Regions from separate parts of the Homo sapiens genome. Here regions 2 and 3 are each linked to region 1. The links are contacts of gene promoters, found by promoter capture Hi-C in human tissues and cell types (Jung and others, 2019). All regions are on one chromosome and are shown on one strand. The core of a region is centred on a gene start or on the middle of the fragment in contact, and the rest is flanking DNA. Distances in the headings are between cores, read along the strand shown.

The links. Contacts are between HindIII fragments. The study calls those that stand out against the background at their distance.
Region 2: a contact is called between a fragment that was not itself captured here and the fragment with the promoter of GLYCTK in region 1, in 1 of the 25 tissues and cell types used here (hippocampus).
Region 3: a fragment that was not itself captured here is called in contact with the fragment with the promoter of GLYCTK in region 1 in 2 of the 25 tissues and cell types used here (aorta and heart right ventricle).

Annotation. Positions count from the first base shown.
Region 1 is chr3:52,286,094-52,290,409 of GRCh38, forward strand. It overlaps GLYCTK (glycerate kinase), which reads left to right and starts at 1,735. Exons shown (of 5, transcript NM_145262.4): 1 at 1,735-1,783; 2 at 4,211-4,316. The coding sequence starts at 4,250. It overlaps GLYCTK-AS1 (GLYCTK antisense RNA 1), which reads right to left and starts at 3,640. Exons shown (of 1, transcript NR_046719.1): 1 at 2,487-3,640. It overlaps LOC107986086 (a long non-coding RNA gene), which reads right to left and starts at 1,927. Exons shown (of 3, transcript XR_001740699.2): 1 at 1,740-1,927. RefSeq lists enhancers at 1,320-2,061, 1,367-2,566, 1,393-1,502, 4,306-4,316. The HindIII fragment of the contact is 16,985 bases long and covers 1-4,316 here.
Region 2 is chr3:51,947,592-51,952,170 of GRCh38, forward strand. It overlaps PARP3 (poly(ADP-ribose) polymerase family member 3), which reads left to right. Exons shown (of 11, transcript NM_001003931.4): 10 at 149-304; 11 at 720-1,276. The coding sequence ends at 889. Among named protein-coding and RNA genes, the nearest start is that of GPR62, 5.5 kb to the right of the region's middle. The HindIII fragment of the contact is 8,892 bases long and covers 1-4,579 here.
Region 3 is chr3:52,651,305-52,655,776 of GRCh38, forward strand. It overlaps PBRM1 (polybromo 1), which reads right to left. Exons shown (of 32, transcript NM_001405607.1): 7 at 438-506. Among named protein-coding and RNA genes, the nearest start is that of PBRM1, 32 kb to the right of the region's middle. The HindIII fragment of the contact is 3,551 bases long and covers 532-4,082 here.

The DNA of each region.
Region 1 (4,316 bases), core at 485-2,984:
AAGAATTTATTCAAGCATAAAGTGTGAGGGCAGCCATCCAGGGAAACACAGACACCAAGCAGTGGCAATTAGTGTTCTCCAGCATGGGGAAAGATGAAGGTTGTTTATATAGGCCGGGCGCCTGTAATTGTTTATACGCCTGTAATCCCTGCACTTTGGGAGGCCAAGGGCGGTGGATCACAAGGTCAGGAGTTCGAGACCAGCCTGGCCAACATGGTGAAACTCTGTCTCTACTAAAAATACAAAAATTAGCTGGACGTGGTGGCGGGCGCCTGTAGTCCCAGCTATTCGGGAGGCTGAGGCAGGAGAATTGCTTGAACCTGGGAGGCGGAGGTTGCAGTGAGCCGACATCGTGCCCAGGCTGCAGTGCAGTGGCCGTGAGCTGAGACTGTGCCATTGCAGTCCAGCCTGGGTGACAGAGCAAGACTCCACCTCAAAACCAAGAGAAAGAAATGTGTTTTTGTTTGTTGGTTTTTTTTTGAGACAGGGGCCCAGGTTGGAGTGCAGTGGCGTGATCAAGGTTCACTGCAGCCTCTACCTCCCAGGCTCAGGTGATCCTCCCATCTCAGCCTCCTGAGTAGCTGGGACTACAGGAGCATGCCACCACACCTGGCTCTTTTTTTTTTGGTAGAGATAAGTTTCGCCATGTTCCCAGGCTGGTCTCGCATTCCTAGGCTCAAGCGATCCGCCCACCTTGGCCTCCCCAATGTTGGGATTACAGGCGTGAAACACTGCGCCCTGCCAAGAAACATGTTTCAATAAAATTGTTAGGAAATCAAGTGTGTGATTTGTGATGCAACTCTCTCCTCTATCTCCCTAAGAAAACATCAGTAAAAACAGTGAACTGTTTTGTATTTTTGGAGTCTGATCAGGACTCATCTTATGAATGTGGGAAGGCATCCAGCCAACACAGGGTAGGCCCCGGATGAGAGTAGGGACAGCGAGGTAGGCCCAGAGTCATTAGCGTTTACATGCCGCTTATGTGCTTGAGGATCGCAGAATGGAACTCTTGCTAAGCCAGAGCTGTATTTGGTGGCCCATGGTGGGAGAGGGAAGAACAATAATAAGTTGTGGAATAAAAGCCATGGAGAGGAGCGGGAATTACTTAATCTGGCTCCAGAAGGGGTGAGTTGTGGGGAAGTAGTGATTCTCAGTTCGTTTGCTCAGCCCAGTCAGTGCCTGACACTCAGGGTGCATCTGCTGACTGACCGTACAGGATAAAGGAAGGGAGAGGCCGGGTGCGGCGGCTGAAGTCTGTAATCCCATCACTTTCGGAGGCTGAGGTGGGTGGATCGCTTGAGGTTAGGCGTTCGAGACCAGCCTGGGCAACATGGCGAAAGCCCGTCTCTACTAAAAAATACAAAAATTAGCCCGGAGTGGTGGCACATGCCTGTAATCCCAGCTACTCGGGAGGCTGAGGCATGAGAATCGCTTGAATCCGGGAGGCGGAGGTTGCATTGGGCCGAAACCGCGACTCTGCACTCCAGTCTGGGCGACAGAATGAGACCCCGTCTCAAAAAAAAAATCGGCAATCGGTGAGGCGGGGATTATTACCCTCAATGTAGAGATTTAAAAAATGAGGACTGAAGGTGACTCCTTCCAGGTCTGTCAGTGGCCAGCAAAGAGCCAATATGCTAAACTCTCCCCTCCCGGACACCGGCTTCAGCCAGAGCTCGCACCCGCCTGCGCCGCTCCACCCACCCACACTTCCGGCTTCCGCTCCGCCCACCCCCTAGTACTTCCGTTCTCCAGCGCTGGGCACCGCGGCCGGAGCTGTGGGCTGGTAAGTCTGCGCCGCCAGGGCTCGCATGGCCTTCAGAAGCGGTCCCTGGGCTGGGCGATGACGGGTCCTGGTGGCAGCAGGCCCTTCTTTCTCGCATCACCGGGCATTACGCGGCAGCCATTTCCCTCGCTAAGGCCCTACCTTAGGATGACGTCACTTCCGGCCCCCTACTGTCTAGGGAAAGCCGGAAATGGTACCAGCCTTCTTTGATGGCGGGGAGGAGTCAAGACCGGTAGTCTTCCTATTTCCGTTGTTTTGCTCTGGAGCCTCCCGGAGTTTCGGAGAGACCGTGTCTTGGATAGAATTGGAGGACTTAGCAAATAAAAATGCAAAGCGTCCAGTTACATTTTTTTTGAGTTAGAATCTCACTCTGTCACCCAGGCTGGAGTGCAGTGGCGCGATCTCGGCTCACTGCAACCTCCGCCTCCCCTGTTCAAATGATTCTCATGCCTCAGTCTCCCGAGTAGCTGGGATTACGGGCGCCCACCACACCCGGCTAATTTTTGTATTTTTAGAAGAGACGGGGTTTCACCACGTTGGTCAGGCTGGTCTCGAACTCCTGACCTCAGGTGATGCGCCCGCCTCAGCCTTCCAAAGTGCTGGGATTACAGGCGTGAGCCACTGCGCCGGGCCACGTCCAGTTAAATTTGAGTTAAGATAAACGACGAATAATTGTTAAGTCCTAAACATTGTATGCACATACTTATACTTTAAAAATTACTTGTTTATTTGAAATTCAAATTTAACCGGAAGTCCTGTATTTTCTCTGGCAGCCTTAGCATTGAGCGTCCCCCTGTCCTGTGCTCATACCCAGTGGCAAGGCTGGGATCTTCTAGGCTCTTGTCCATCTGGGAAATAGATACAAATTTCATCCAGGCTATAAAGACCGGCTGTCTTAGTTGCTAAGATGCTTTTAGCTCCAAGTCCAATGGGCAAGCTCCAGGGGTCCCCCTGGCCAAAACTGGACCCATTTTCGGAATCCCCATGACGATGCCCTCTGTGTTCCCTTTCACAACAGAAGTCAGGCATGGCTGTCTTTTCTTACCGGAGAGCTGAGAACTAGGCAAGCAAAATGGTCAAAGTCTAGAAGTAACCACCATATTTGGGTGTGGGGTAAACCGGTGTTTGAGATCTGTGTTGCAGTGGACAGTATCAGAGAGCCTGAGGTTGTTAAGGGAAGAGCGTAGTGTTAATCTCACCCCATGTCTCATTTTGCGGATGAGGCCCAGTGAGAGAAATGGAGGTGTCCCAGCCACTCAGAAAGCCTATAGTAGAGCTGGAACCTCAATTCCCAGCCTCCTTACCCTGCTCAGTCCATACTTGCTGATGAAGTCAGCTTGCAACATTTATGGTAGGCATTTATTAAAGTAGATGCAATAGTACATATGTAGTACAGATGAGCTGTTTGGGTCTTTGTTGTTCCTATACCCCTCTACAGCTTCCTGACCTTCGCCCCAAGGCTTCTTTAGCTTTTACTCTGCCCAGTGGGGAAAATGGCTATGGGCTCAGTTATGGGAGCCTGGCCTTTGCCTACTTCAGCCCTTGGGCTCTCACCACTGTGGGTGGTGTGACCTAGGACTTGTTTTTGTTATCTTGGAACCAGAAGGCGTGTTCTTGGCAGGGTTGGGTCTGGCCAACTGTGTGGGTAGAAGGGCATCCTTTTCTGTCCTGCAATTGGGCTTCATGGCACATGGCCTCACATGGTGCCTGGGGACTTTTCTAAGGTTCCACCATGAGCCAGACTTTGCCCTCACTCCTGATTTGAACCTAAACCTCTTGCTGAACTGGTCCTGCATACTGAGATTCCTCAGATTGCTTGCCCTGAGGATGTGTTCTGGGTTTGACCTGATAAACCTGCAGCCTCCTATAGACCCTGACTTCCCAGGCTCCTAATCCCAGTCTCATGAGATAATGAAATAGAGAAGACTGGAGGTCAATGGGCTCAGGGTCAGTTGGTGGGACAATCAACAGCTTCCTGGCAGCAGAGGTGGTAAAGAGGCAAGGAAGGAGTGCCAGAAAGGGGCGTTGCCCCAGGGTAACAGCGCAGAAGTGCAGGGGGTGGAAAAGGGGTGGGATGGGAGCCCACTGGTAGAAATTACTCCCTCTGTCAATGATTAACTCCCAGCCAAAGGGGTGACCTGGGAGGAGGGCCCAGCTAATAGGAACTTTGGACTTGAGGCAGAGTATCCAGAGGGCCGGCATGTGGTCTGCAGAAGAGGAGGACGTGGCTGGGTGGCAGGGCTGGTCTCCAAGGACGAGTAAGATCCTGCAGCTGCAGGCTTCAGGAAGTCTCCTGGGGCTATCAGATGGCTCCTTCTTGTAGCAGCAGCTGTGGGGTCCACTGGCCCTGAGCCCTCAGAGGGGCGGCCGTGGGGGACCTCCTGTCTTTTGCCTTGCAAGGGCCTCAGTTGTGCTTTTTCCCTCTAGGCAGCCATGGGTGCCAGGCAGTGCTGAGAGCAGTGGGGCATGGCTGCAGCCCTGCAGGTCCTGCCCCGCTTGGCCCGAGCCCCCTTGCATCCACTCCTCTGGCGGG
Region 2 (4,579 bases), core at 1,583-4,082, 340 kb before region 1:
ACAAGGAGGGAGTGACGGTTGGGGGAGAGTGAGCCTTTTCTTGCTGGAGCAGCAAAGCCAGAAGGAATAACATCGCAGCAGAGAGGGGCCCCACAGGTCAGCAGGAGGCAGGCTGAGCTGCCCACCGGTGCCTCCCTGTGTCTTGCAGTTATTGGCATGAAGTGTGGGGCCCACCATGTCGGCTACATGTTCCTGGGTGAGGTGGCCCTGGGCAGAGAGCACCATATCAACACGGACAACCCCAGCTTGAAGAGCCCACCTCCTGGCTTCGACAGTGTCATTGCCCGAGGCCACACCGAGCCTGGTGAGTCCTCAGAAGCTGTACAGCCCAAGGAGAGAGGTGGGGCCGAGATAGGGGCTGGGACATTTTCAGGGAGGGGGCTGTGAAGAGGGACAAAAAGAAGCTTCCCTGTCGTCACTCAGTTTGTCATTTGACAAACATCCACTGGTTCAACACATCATTCCTGGGCATCCCGGAGGGCTTCAAAAAGAGGAGTTGTTGACTGAGCATTGAAGGATTAGTACAAGTTTCCCAGAGAGAAGTCGGGGAGGACACCCCAGGCAGAAGCCCCAGCCCCTGCAGTGGTTTGGAGGTGGGCAAGGTGGAAATGAGCAGGCGTGCCCTGTGACAGACATGGAGAGCATAGGGGGCAGGACTTACTCGTAAGGCCTGGGACCAGTGACCCCTGGGCCACCCTGGCCCTTGCTGTGCCCTGCAGATCCGACCCAGGACACTGAGTTGGAGCTGGATGGCCAGCAAGTGGTGGTGCCCCAGGGCCAGCCTGTGCCCTGCCCAGAGTTCAGCAGCTCCACATTCTCCCAGAGCGAGTACCTCATCTACCAGGAGAGCCAGTGTCGCCTGCGCTACCTGCTGGAGGTCCACCTCTGAGTGCCCGCCCTGTCCCCCGGGGTCCTGCAAGGCTGGACTGTGATCTTCAATCATCCTGCCCATCTCTGGTACCCCTATATCACTCCTTTTTTTCAAGAATACAATACGTTGTTGTTAACTATAGTCACCATGCTGTACAAGATCCCTGAACTTATGCCTCCTAACTGAAATTTTGTATTCTTTGACACATCTGCCCAGTCCCTCTCCTCCCAGCCCATGGTAACCAGCATTTGACTCTTTACTTGTATAAGGGCAGCTTTTATAGGTTCCACATGTAAGTGAGATCATGCAGTGTTTGTCTTTCTGTGCCTGGCTTATTTCACTCAGCATAATGTGCACCGGGTTCACCCATGTTTTCATAAATGACAAGATTTCCTCCTTTTTTAAGGCTGAATGGTACTCTGTTATGTATATGCACCACATTTCCTCTATCCGTTCATCTATCAGTGGACACCAAGCTGCTTCCATATCTTGGCTATTGTGAACAGTGCTGCAGTGAACTGGGAAAGCAGACGTCTCTTGAACATACTGATTTCATTTCCCTTTGATGTATACCCAGTAGTGGGGTTTCTGGATCCATATCACCCCTTCTTGCCAGGCTCCCCTGTGTCCCAGACATCGATCCCCCTTCCCTCCAATCCCTGTTAGCCTTGATGTGTCTGTGGCCCCAGAGTCTTGCCTCCTAAAGTGATGGGTGTGGTACGGGCGTATTACAGGGACACAGATGCAGCAGCTTACTCAAGGGGCACAGCTGAGAGTGGCTTGGATCCCACATCCACCCAGGCCGTCCATCCTGGCCTGGACTGCATGTTGGAGCCATGTGGTCACCAAGGTAGGCTAAACTGCAGGCATGTGCAAGCAGCTTTACTAAACATGGTATTCTCTTGCCCCAGCCTCTGCCTGTCTGTGCCACAACTGTGCTGGGCCTGGGCCTCCAGCCACACTCCAGGGAGCGAGCGCTCACATGGGTTGATGTGGATCATGCACATACTCCTTGCCCCTCCTGGTCCATCACTGCAACAACCTGCTTCCTCTAATTGAGCCTTCAAGGGGGACCCCCACTGTCTACTCAGAACTATTTGTCATCTGGGGACCCACCTGGTGATTCTGTCCTTTATCCCAGACATTGCCAGGTGAATCAAGCATTCTTCATGTCTTGGCACCAAACATCCCTTTGTGTCTTTTTTTTTTTTTTTTTTTTTGAGGCAGGGTCTCACCCTGTCACCCAGGCTAGAGGGGAGTGGTACAACCACTGCTCACTGCAGCCTCAGCCTTCCCAGGCTCAGGTGATCCTCCCACCTCAGCCTCCAGAGTAGCTGGGACTACAGGTACATGACACCACACTTGGCTAATTTTTGTGTTTTTTGTAGAGACAGAGTTTTGCCATGTTGCCCAGTTTGGTCTCAAACTCCAGGGCTCAGGTGATCCTCCTTCCTCTGCCTCCCAAAGTGCTGGGATTACAGGTGTGAGCCACTGCACCCAGCCTCCTTTGTGTCTTAATCTAAATGTTACAAACAAGCTGAGCATATGTCAGAGGGGCACAGCTCTGCAATCATGAAAGGAGGCTGTTCAGGCAGGAATGCCAGTGATCACCAGGCAGGTCATCCTATCCACAGACAAAGGGTGCCATTGCTGGAGGAGGCCAACATCCAGGCTAGGGTTGCACATTGCATTTAGTTGTTGTGTCTCTTTAGTCTCCTTTAATCTGAAAACACTCCTCAGCCTTTTTTTTATTTTATAACTTTGACATTCTTGACACTCTTGAAGAATACAGGCCAGTTGTTTTATAGAATGTCTATCAGTTTAGGTTTCTCTGATGCTTTGTCGTGATTAGATTTAGGTATTGCATGGGCAGGAATGTGACATAAATGATATGCCCTAGGGAATTCCATCTGTAGGGGCATGGCCCATTCTTGGTGATGTTAATTAATTTTAATCATCCATTAAGGTGATGTCCGCCATGTTTCTCCACGGTGAAGCTACCATTTCTCCCCTTTGTAATTAATCAATAATCTGTGGGGAAATATTGTTGGGTGTAAATGTCCCTTTCCTCATCACCTTTCACCCACTAGCTTTATCCATCGATGATAACTTAACTGAAATCAACTACCTGAATCAATTTTTGCTAAGATAGTTGCAAATGGTAGTTATCTAACTCCATCATTTCTTTTATCTGTATTAGTTTCTGTCTTTATTATCAGTGTAGACTCATGGATTTTTATTTTATTCAGTGAGTTATAATCCATTACTGTCCTCAATTATTTTGATCCTCAAATTGTCCCAGATTTGGCCAGCAGAAGGTCCCTTCCGTGTCCCGATCATTTTTTGAGCACATCCTTTCTCTCTGGCATCACAAGATGTTCCAGGTTCATCTCGTACGAACCGGGAATCAGCCATTTCTCCAAGGAGCCCTGGTTTCCTGGAGCAGGAAATGTTTAGAATCCAAGATCTGGGCAATAGATGTGCTCCTTGGTACTGAGGTGTCATTGCTTTTAAGTCCTTCCAGCAAAGAGAGCTAAGGAATGTGTCTATGTGGCTGGGCGCAGGAGCTCTCACCTGTAATCCCAGCACTTTGGGAGGTCAAAGCCGGAGGATCTCTTGAGCCCAAGAGTTCAAGGCTGCAGTGAGTTATGATTGCAACACTACATTCCAGCCTGGATGACAGACTGAGACCCTGTCTCTAAAAAAATAAAAAAGGAAAAAAAAGGGGGGAGACAGAATATGTATGTGTGAATAAATAGCAAACACATCTCTCTATATCTATTTCTCCAGTTCCAGTCAAACACCACAGAGTTCTTCCATTCTTCCCCAATTCCCTATTTCCTCGATTCTTAAACAGTAAGAACCTGGGTTTCTATCAACATCAATATATCTACTTATTTGCTCAATCCTGCACAAAAAGGAGTTTCAGAATTGCCATACCCATACCCTGTGAAAAACAAACATTCTAAATAGAGCTCAAGATGTATCTGATCTTACTCAGTATTTTTTTTTTTTGTCGTTAGATTGAGGGTCCATGGTCAAAGTAACAGTTTGAATACACGTTCAGATGTTACTTGGATTGGTTCTTTCTCTTCAGTGTGGTTATTTTATTCGTCTGAAATACAGGTAGGCTCAGTCATTTCTGTCTACATTCTTCTTTGTTACTTTATTGTTTTCAATATGTAGAACATTAACATAGTTCCAAAAGGTCCACTCTATGCAAGCTGTGCTCAGAAGAGTCCTTCTATCCCCCACACTCCATTCCTACTCACCTGCTGGAGGGAGCCAGTTTCATTAGTTTCTGGCATATCCTTCCTGTGTTTTTTTTTTTTATTTTGTTTTGTTTTTTGGAAATTTTGCAATACACATACACACATACACATGCTAAGGAAGTGTTTTAATTTTTTATTTATATTAATGATGTCGAAGGGAGCATGAACTCTGCAACCCACCACAGTCCCCACCCCTCCCTATCGCGTTCCCCAGTCCACTTTTCTCATTTGCTGTTCCCACTTGGCCCCACCGAGCTCTCTCCAGGCTCTGGTAACTCAGGGGCTGCCCCAGGCCTACAGGGCTGCCTGGGTAAGGACCAAAACTTCAAAAATCCATCTTCACCTCCTAGAGGCAAATGCCCAAATTCAAGTTGTAGCCAAGGACAGGAAGGGACAGCTGTGTGGACAGAGCTCTAGGAAGCAAAACTCAGCTGTG
Region 3 (4,472 bases), core at 1,057-3,556, 370 kb after region 1:
CCGTTGTGGGTAGCTTTTATTCTAACGTATCCTAAAGCTATTTGGAAGCAGATAAAAATAAACAACAGGTTACCCCATCTACCCTGATGTGATTATTATGCACTGTATGCCAGTATCAAAATTTCATGTACCCCATAAATACATACACCTGCTATGCACCCACAAAAATAAAAAATTTAAAAATTAAAAATGAAATAAATCTTTTGTCACAAATGTATCTTTTATAATCAGAAATGTCGGTAACCAATGTGTTTTAATTTTTGTCCTAAGATGCAATCCAAAGCTACAATCAGTAACACTATTTTAATTTATTTACATGATTTGCTAATAACCCCTTACAGAGACAACTAGCTTCTCTGTTTTCTAAAAGCTTCTAGGAAAGATCATAGGCCAATCTGCTCTAAACCACAATCATTTACTTATGGTCATCTTCATACCTGTATCCTCTGGGCAATGGTCTTGAGATCTATAGGCTCCTTAATTATTGCATAATAATCTGGATATTGCTGGAAGACAAAAAACCAGGCATGCTCAATAAGTTAAACTATTCAGCTAATGAAAAGAGAAGGAAGTACATTGACAATCTGTTGTTCAAACAACCAGTGAAGCAGCTTTGTGAGATTCAAGACTAAAGACATGGCTGTACAGCACATTTATTATATCAGAACCATAAAGAATTTAATCTTAAGAAGCTTCATGATCTATCCAACAGCATGACTTAGGAGTTAAAACTTGGTATTTTGAGTGTTATTATGCAACTAGCATAAAATTTAATGTTTTAAAAAATTCTAGGCTGGGGCCGGGTGCGGTAGCTCACGCCTGCAATCCCAGCACTTTGGGAGGCCGAGGCAGGTGGATCACCTGAGGTCAGGAGTTCAAGACCAGCCTGGCCAACATGGTGAAACCCCATCTCTACTAAAAATACAAAAATTAGCCGGGCGTGGTGGCAGGCACCTGTAATCCCAGCTACTCAGGAGGCTGAGGCAAGAGGATCGCTTGAACCTGGGAGGCAGAGATTGCAGTGAGCTGAGATCGTGCCATTATACTCCAGCCTGGGGGACAAGAAAGAGACTTCGTCTCAAAAAAAAAAAAAAAAATTCTAGGCAGGGCACGGTGGCTCACACCTGTAATCCCAGAACTTTGGGAGGCCGAGGCGGGTGGTTCACGAGGTCAGGAGATTGAGACCATCCTGGCTAACGTGGTGAAACCCTGTCTCTACTAAAAATAGAAAAAAAATTGGCTGGGCATGGTGGCATACAACTATAGTCCCAGCTACTCTGGAGGCTGAGGGAGGAGAATCGCTTGAACCCAAGAGGCAGAGGTTGCAGCGAGCCGAGATCATGCCACTGCACTCCAGCCTGGGCGGCACAGCAAGACTCCATCTCAAAAAAAAAATAAATAATCTAAATTCGGCAAGGCGCGGTGGCTCACACCTGTAATCCCAGCACTTCGGGATGCTGAGGCAGCTGGATCACTTGAGGTCAGAAGTTCAAGACCAACCTGGCCAACATAGCGAAACCCTGTCTCCATTAAAAATACAAAAATTAGCCAGGCATGGTGGTGTGCGCCTGTAATCCCAGCTACTCAGGAGGCTAAGGCAGGGCAATCACTTGAGCGCAGGAGATGGAGGTTGCAGTGAGCCGAGATCACGCCATTGTACTCCAGCCTGTGCAACAGAGCAAGATTCCGTCTCAAAAAACAAACAAAAATTCTAAATTCACAGAATTATACAATTTTTCATTTAAGGTCCCAAGATATCTATGCCTAGAAATAAAGTAGAAGAAATGCTCTTTAGGAGTTTGTTACAAGCTCTTTTAATTTTGCAATCTAAATAACGTTATTATATAATATTCACATAAACTTTCATAAGGATCTGTAAGAAGTCAGGTTGCAAAATTTGTTAGCTTCATGTTTAACTTGATGCTTCTGCTTATTTCAGTCAAAGTAAGTTTTTTCAAAACAAAATACCTTTTGAATGAAACTTTGTTAAAGAAATGAAGCACGGCTGGGCATGGTGGCTCGCGCCTGTAATCCCAGCACTTTGGGAGGCTGAGGTGGGTGGATCACCTGAAGTCAGGAGTTCGAGACTAGCCTGGCCAACATGGTGAAACCCCATCTCTACTAAAAATTCAAAATTAGCCTGGTATGTTGGTGCATGCATGTAATCCCAGCTACTTGGGAGGCTGAGGCAGGAGAATCGCTTGAACCTGGGAGGTGGAGGTTGCAGTGAGCTGAGATTGCTCCATTGCACTCCAGCCTGGGCAAGAAGAGCAGAATTCTGTCTCAAAAAAAAAAAAAAGAAAGAAAGAAATGAAGCAAAATTCTGGTCAGGCATGGTGGCTCATGCCTGTAATCCCTGCACTTCGGGAGGCCGAGACGGGCAGATCACGAGGTCAGGAGTTCAAGACCAGCCTGGCCAATATGGTGAAACCCCGTCTCTACTAAAAATACAAAAATTAGCTGGGTGTGGTGGCGGGTGCCTGTAATTCCAGCTACTCAGGAGGCTGAGGCAGGAGAATCGCTTGAACCTGGGAGGCAGAGGTTGCAGTGGGCTGAGATCACGCCACTGCACTCCAGCCTGGGTGACAGAGCAAGACTGTCTTGAAAAAAGAAAAGAAATGAAGCAAAATTATTAGCAACTTCTGATTTATCAAATACTAGGTCATCCCAAGAAATTGAACATGTTGAGGAATGTCCTTGAAGCTTTCACAACAACCTAGAATCACTCACTGCACTCAGGCTTTCCTACAGATTTTCTTCCTTGGAGGAAATAACTGAAGTTGCCCAAATATCAAAAGTTGGTCTTATCAGATGGGAGAGGTTCAGGGGAAGTCAGATTGTGCTCTCCCAACTCTTCCCACCTGTTCAAACCCTACTGAAGCCCACGCAGCAACAACAAAAGCAGAAAGCCACAGCCTTCACTCAGTTACTGGGCTGAACAGATTATCTCAGTGTTGTTTTATCTCATCTGTCCCCTAAGCTTACCACTACTTTCTTAACCCTACTCCTTCCTTTACTTGGATGAATCTCCATTGCTGCCCCTTCTCTTCACCAGTTCTACTTCTGAGAGAAAGTTCAGAGGACAAATTATGGCAAGGCCACCCAGCATGGAGTACAAAGTAATTCAAAGTCATCCAATCCCACAAATTCCCAATCTATCTCTCCCATGCAGCCAGCTTGCTTGGGACGGACTTACTAAGGAAAGGTGAAAACTGTCCTGCCCCTTCAGCTGTCAATCCTTGTTGTCTTTCAAACTGTCACACCCTGAGAGACCAATAGAAACCTGCTTTTCCCAACCAGCTCCTTCAAGGTGACCTTGAAGGGGGAATGGGGGGAACTAATTATTGATGTTTCATTGCCCCATATCACTGTTGTTGATTTGACCATCACTGATTATCTCCTGCAGGGTAAGAATAAATCTTGAGCGAAGACAGTACTTCTATTTTGTGTGTATGTGTGCATGTGTGAATGAGAGTTGACAGAGAGCGAGAGAGAGAAAAAGAGACGGGGTCTCTTTCTGTTGCCTAGGTTGGAGTGAAGTGGCATGATCACAGCTCACTGCGGCCTTGAACTCCTAGGCTCAAGTGATCCTCCAAACTCAGCCCCACCAAACAGCTGTGACTACAGGTGCACACCACCATGACTAGCTAATTAAAAAAATTTTTTTTGTAGAGACAGAGTCTCAGCTATGTTGGCCTCTCAAAGCTCTGGGATTACAGGTGTGGGTCACTACACCTATCCTGTACTTCTTTTATAATTTTTTTTACTGTAATAAAATAAATTTCATGTAGTAACATGAAATTTGCCATTTTTAAGTGTACAGTTCTGTGGCATGAGGTACACTCACACTGCTGTGCAACTATCACTGACATCCACCTCCAGAACTTTTTAATCTTGCAAAATGGAAACTCTGTACATATTAAACAACTCCCCATTCCCTCCAGCCCCTGGCAACCACCATTCTAACTTTATGTCTCTAAGATTTTGAGTATTCTAGGTACCTCATATAAGAAATCATACAGTATTTGTCCTTTTGTGACTGGCTCATTTTGCTTAAAATAATGTCTTTAGAGTTCATCCATGTAGGATGTTTCAGAATTTCCTTCCTTTTTAACGCCAAATAATATGCCACTGTATGTATATGTCACATATACATTCATTCACTGATGGACACCTGAGTTGCTTCCATTTTTAGCTATTGTGAATAATGCTGCTATGAATATGGGTATACAAATATCTCTTCAATACCCTGCTTTCACTTTCTTTGGAGTATATATCTAAAGTGGAACTGCTGGATCATATGGTAATTCCATGTTTAATTCTCTAGAGAATCATCATACTGTTTTCTCCTTTTCTTAAAGTTTTAAGTCATATGACCAATATTAATAATTACATCTTTCTAGTAAGATTCACACATAGGACAGCAGTGGTCAGTTGCTTTATTTCTAATGTTGTAACTATCCTATAGCTAG